Regions from separate parts of the Homo sapiens genome. Here region 1 is linked to region 2. Evidence: promoter capture Hi-C in human tissues and cell types (Jung and others, 2019). All regions are on one chromosome and are shown on one strand. The core of a region is centred on a gene start or on the middle of the fragment in contact, and the rest is flanking DNA. Distances in the headings are between cores, read along the strand shown.

The links. The method cuts DNA at HindIII sites, captures the fragments that hold promoters and counts their contacts. A contact is called where the count stands out against the background at its distance.
Region 1: a fragment that was not itself captured here is called in contact with the fragment with the promoter of LRRC20 in region 2 in 1 of the 25 tissues and cell types used here (mesendoderm cells).

The regions. Positions count from the first base shown.
Region 1 is chr10:70,416,793-70,419,492 of GRCh38, reverse strand. The region is part of intron 1 of EIF4EBP2 (eukaryotic translation initiation factor 4E binding protein 2); the gene reads right to left. Among named protein-coding and RNA genes, the nearest start is that of EIF4EBP2, 14 kb to the right of the region's middle. The HindIII fragment of the contact is 5,600 bases long and covers 1-2,700 here.
Region 2 is chr10:70,381,200-70,383,944 of GRCh38, reverse strand. It overlaps LRRC20 (leucine rich repeat containing 20), which reads left to right and starts at 1,320. Exons shown (of 5, transcript NM_001278212.2): 1 at 1,320-1,396. RefSeq lists enhancers at 816-915, 1,446-1,645, 1,490-2,109 and a silencer at 1,046-1,415. The HindIII fragment of the contact is 15,501 bases long and covers 1-2,745 here.

The DNA.
Region 1 (2,700 bases), core at 176-2,675, 35 kb before region 2:
AAGAAAAAAAAAGTTTTAAATGAAAGAATAAACAAGTATGAGAAAAAATAAACAGCCCCTTTTAAAGGCTTTCCAAAGAAGGACTGAGACTAACATTCTTCTCACAGCTATAGTCAAAGCTGAAACTGGCAGCCCCTCTCTATTCTACAAAACAATCTGCTTACCAGTTAAGTGCTACCTGAATGTTTTAAAAACAATAGTTTTGAAGAGTACACTTTAACTGATAAACAGTTATGGAAACGTGCTGCTTACAAATGGTCAACAGGTACATTAAAAGGTGCTCGACATCACTAATCATCAAGGAAATGCAAATCAAAACGACAATGAGATATCACTTCACATCTCTTAGGATGGCTATTATCAAAAAGACAAGAGAGCCTGGGCATGGTGGCTCATGCCTGTAATTCCAACAGTTTGGGAGTCCAAGGCAGGAGGACTGCTTGAGCCCAGGAGTCTGAGTCTAGTCTGGGCCACATAGTGAGACCCTGTCTCTAAAAAAATTATTTTAAAAAGAGCCAAGTGAGGTGCTGTTGGTCTGAAGTCCCTACTACTCGGGGGTTGAGCCAGGAGAATAGCTTGAGTCCAGGAGTTCGAGGCTACAGTGAGCTATGACTGCACCACTGCACTCCAGCCTGGGCAACAGAGCAAGATCCTGCCTCAAAATGTAAATCAAATATAATTTTAGGACAAGGAAAGTAGAAACTTACCTTCAACCTCTTTGCTTTGAAAAACAAAAACTAGAGTAGCACTCAAAAAGGCATCTAGAAATTATGAGGAACGAGGCATTCTGGGTAGCACAAAACTTAGTTCAACTTTCAAAGGGTAAACAATTTCAATTATCTTGAATGAAAATACTTCTAATACAGATTTAAATCCCTTTATGGCCTTCAACAGAAAATGATTCAACCCTCTTGATGAATCACAGTATTATGAAAATTGTTTATTATACTATGTTGTGACCTAAGAAGTCTCTAAGCCCTATCAAGTTGGTGCTCTGTACAGCTGAACATCACTATACAGAGTTCGGATGGTCAAAGTTGTGCTGGTGCACCCCTCCCCCACAGTGCCCTTGTCCCCTTAGACTAAGAGCTACCTTTTTTCCAGGCTACTACTATGACTCAGTCAGCTTAGGCTGCCATAACAAAATACCACAGACTGCACAACTTAAACAACAGAAATTGTCTCATAGTTCTGGAGGCTAGAAGTCCAACACTAAGATGCCAGCATGGATGGTTTCTGGTGAGGGCTCTCTTCCTGGCTTGTAGGTAGCTGCCTTCTCTTTGTGTCCCTTACATGGGGGTAAGGGGGCCTCAACTCTGTGGTGTTCCATCTTATAAGGGCACAAATCCCATCATGAGGGTCCCACCTTTATGACCTCAACTCAGCCTAATTAACTCCCAAAGGCACCACCTCCTAATACTATCATGTTGGGAATTAAGGTTTCAACATAAGAATTTTGGGGAGACACAATTCAATCTGTATAGCACACCCTTAACACCCTTTCTAACTTGGTGTTTCTAGTCTGGTGGGTTTGGAAATCAGCAACTTGCTTATTAGCATGCTATGTAAAATAAGGGCAAATAGGCTGAAAGGGGGTCTGATGGCCTTCCAATGAACAAAGGGAAGGAGCTTTAACAATGGACTTTGCCTATCTGTTTGAGTTACCCCACTTTTGTTCATGATGAGATTTCAGAAGGGTGAGGTTTCACTGTCAGATGAGTCAACTTGCAAACTGGAACAAGATTATTCTTACTTCTGTAGTACATCAAGCTTGGAAATTGTGGAGATGAGGTGGTGAAAAAAGCACAGCACAGAAGCAAGCTTTCTAAATTATGTATCAGCAACAACGCATACATTAAAGAATTGCAATTAAACCAACTAGGATATAGGTAGTGGAGATTCTGCCTAAATGTGTGAGGTATAAGAGAAACTCTGAAGAACCTCTATGACCTTAAAGAGCTGATAAGATACGGTATTTTACAAGTTTATTGAAATAGCATTCATTTACAATTGATCCACTTACAGTGTATAATTCAATAGTTTTAGTTGATTCGCAGGACTGTACAATCATCACCATAATCAATTTTAGAACCCTTTCATTACCCCCATAACCTCCCCCAACCCCTTAGATGCCACCTGATCTCCCCACACCCTCTGACCCTAGGCAACCACTAATCTACTTTCTGTCTCTATATAGTTTTACCTACTCTGGCCATTTCATATAAATGGAATCATACAATACAGTCTTTTGTGACTGCTTCTTTCACTTTCATAATGTCTTCAAAGTTCATTTATGTTGTAGCATTTATCAGTACCTCATTTCTTTTTCATTACCAAATATTTCATTGTATGTATATATCGCACCTTATCAATTTATCAGTTGATGGACTGGTAAGTCGATAAAAACAAGTCCATCAACTGATAAATGGGTTGTTTCCACTTTTTGTCTATTATGAATAACATTCACGTACAAGTTTTCATGTGAACACATTTCCATTCTCTTGGGTATATACCAAACTAAAAAAGTGGAATTAGCCAGGCATGGCTCACACCTGTAATCCCAGCACTTTGGGAGGCCAACGTGTATTACTTGACCTCACAAGTTCAAGACCAGCCTGGGCAACATGGCAAAATCCCGTCTCTTAAAAAAAAATACAAAAATTAGCCAGGCGTGGTGTTGCATGCCTATAGTCCCAGCTG
Region 2 (2,745 bases), core at 71-2,570:
TTATCATCCTCTTCTCTTTATTCCTACTAACCTATTGTAGTTTTTTCCTAGGGCTGCTATAACAAATGGACATAAACTGGGTGGCAACAGAAATTTATTCACTTACAGCTCTGGAAGCTATTAAGTCCAAAATCAAGGTGTCTGGAGGGTTAGTTCCTTTTTGGAGGCTCTGAAGGAGGAATTATTCCCTGCCCGTTCCTAGCTTCTGGTCCCTGCTGGCAGTGCTTGGCACTCCTGGCCTTGGAAATGCATCAGCTGATCCCTGCCGCCATCACCACAGGTGGTTCTCCCTGTGCGTCTCTTCTGTGTCTCTTCTCTTACAACGACACCAGTCTCAGTGGATTAGGGGCCCGCCCTACTCCAGCATGACCTTAACTCATTACATCTGCAACGGCCCTACTTCCAAATAAGATCACATTCTGATGAACTTTAACATATTGTTGGGGGTGGAGAGGGCATAAGTAACCCTTAACATCCATCGAGGCCCAAGGGAATGTGTGTTCTTTGACTGCCTAGACCCCCTAGAGGCGGAATTAAATATTCTTTTTTTTTTCTTTGAGACAGAGTCTCACTCTGTCCACTCAGGTTGGAGTGCCCATCTCGGCTCACTGCAACCTCCGCCTCCCGGGTTCAAGCGATTCTCCTGCCTCAGCATCCCGAGTAGCTGCGGCTACAGGCGCCTGCCACCACGCCCGGCTAATTTTTGTATTTTTAGTAGAGACGGGGGTTTTGCCATGTTGGCCAGGCTGGTCTCGAACTCCCGACCTCAGGTGATCCGTCTACCTCGGCCTCCCAAAGTGCTGGGATTACAGGCGTGAGTCGCCGCGCCCCGCCCTCAAGTCATATTTTATAGATGAGAACATTAGGATTGGAGACGCAGGGCCGAGACACAGGGCCTTGCATATACTAAAAACCTCAATGGGCACCCGAAGTCATCATAGGAAAATTTCCCTATGCTCCATGTTCACGTGTTTCAAAGTATCCCTGATCTGGCTAATTCAACTCCATTCCCTCGAGAAAACCCAATCTGGAGCCCCGGTCCTAGAGATCCTGGGATGTACTGCGCGTCCCACTCTGTATCTCCGCCCCCTCAGGCGTTCTCCCTCTAGAAGCAGCACACAAAGCGGTTACTCCCTGCGGCCGGGAGCGCGCGGGCTGCCCTTCCGCGCGCCACCCCCGCGCGCGCCGCTCCCCCACTGATTGGCTGAGCGCATCCCGAGCCCAGCCTGCTCCCGCCGCGGCGCCGGTCCTGGCGCCGGGATTGGCGGAGTGGCCGCGCGCGCAGATCCCGCAGCCCCGCGCGCCCCGCCCCGCCGGCTCGGAACTCGCCTGGGGCGCCGCCGGCGGCGGAGGGAGCGTGACTGCGCTGCGCAGGGCGCTAGGAGGCATTGTCGCCGTAAGTGGAGCCAAAAGCGGCCCGGAGCGGGACCACACGCTTCTTGCCCCGCAAAGTAAATGTAGTCCGAGGTCAAGCGTTGCAGGGGCTGGGGGAGAGAGGGCGAGAAGTGTTCCGATTTTTGCAGCGTCCCCTCCCCTCCCCCAGGTCACCCGGTGGAAAAGAGCAGCGGTGCACCAGCGGAGGCTCTGGCGGTGCCAAGGGGCTCGGCATGCGCGGGCTCTTGCTTGCTCACTGCACCTGGACCCCGATGGTTCAGGGGAGTGGGTGCAGAGGTGCCAGGGAATAGGGAGCTCGGAGAACCGCTCCCAGGCGGGCCTCCATTCCTCGCGGGAGGCGCCCTTGCTTGGAGAGGCTGCTGTGCATTTCGTCCCCGAAGCGACACTTTCGGGGTTTGCTTCCGCTCTGGGGAGCTGCAGACGCCTGCTCCAGAGCGTGCCTCTCGGCCTCCGGGCAGCGTGGGAGCCCCGGGGCCTCTGCGATCACTACCATTCTTCCCTCTGCCAGCTTTATTCTCCCAGTCCCCGCCTGCCGGGCCAGCGGACGAGGTGCCATTGGCTGCAGGCACCGGGGGTGAGGCGGATCCTGGCACGCGGGGCTGGGGGACCCTTGCCTGGCTACCGCGCGTAGTGCTGGAGGCTCAGTCCGAGGATGCCTAGATGTTAGCGAGGGAGCACGCGCTGAGCTTCCCGAACCCCATGCCACAAAAACAAGGCGCCAGCAGGTCCCGCTCACGTCCCAGCGGGCTTCTTTCCCTGGGGTGGGGAAGTGGGTCAACTTCGTTCTGATCTGAAGGGGGGTTTGGGACTATTTGGGTCGCTCCTCACCTCCCCACCCGCTCCCCGGCTTGGCATGGTCCAGAGCCCGGGCTGGAGCCAGCGGTAGGGCCAGCTTGCACACATGGCTCCGGAGGCTCCGGTTGCCCATCCGAGCCCCTGCCAGGCTCTAACGTTCCCAACTGACAACACCAGTAACTAAATATAGGAGCAGATGGTGGGGACGGGCTGTCGCAGCGGCTCCTTTGCAGAGGTCTCCGGACTGCAGATAAGGTAGAGTTATTGATGGTAAGGGCTGGAGTCAGGGGGCCAGGTCAGGGTTTAAGCAAAAATCACCCCTCCCCCAGCCAGCCTGAGTCCAGGTGAAACCAGGTTATAGGGACAGGAGGGCTGTATTGCCAGCTCCCCCAAAGCAGGACAACGTTTTTGTCTGGCATTGAATTTATTACATCCAAACTTCCTCTCTACACCTGTTTGATTACCTACTGGTAATGCCTTGGTGTGGGAAACATGTAATGGTTCGCAAAGTCCTTTCCCAAAAGTTACATATCAGTTACTTCCCACAATAATCCG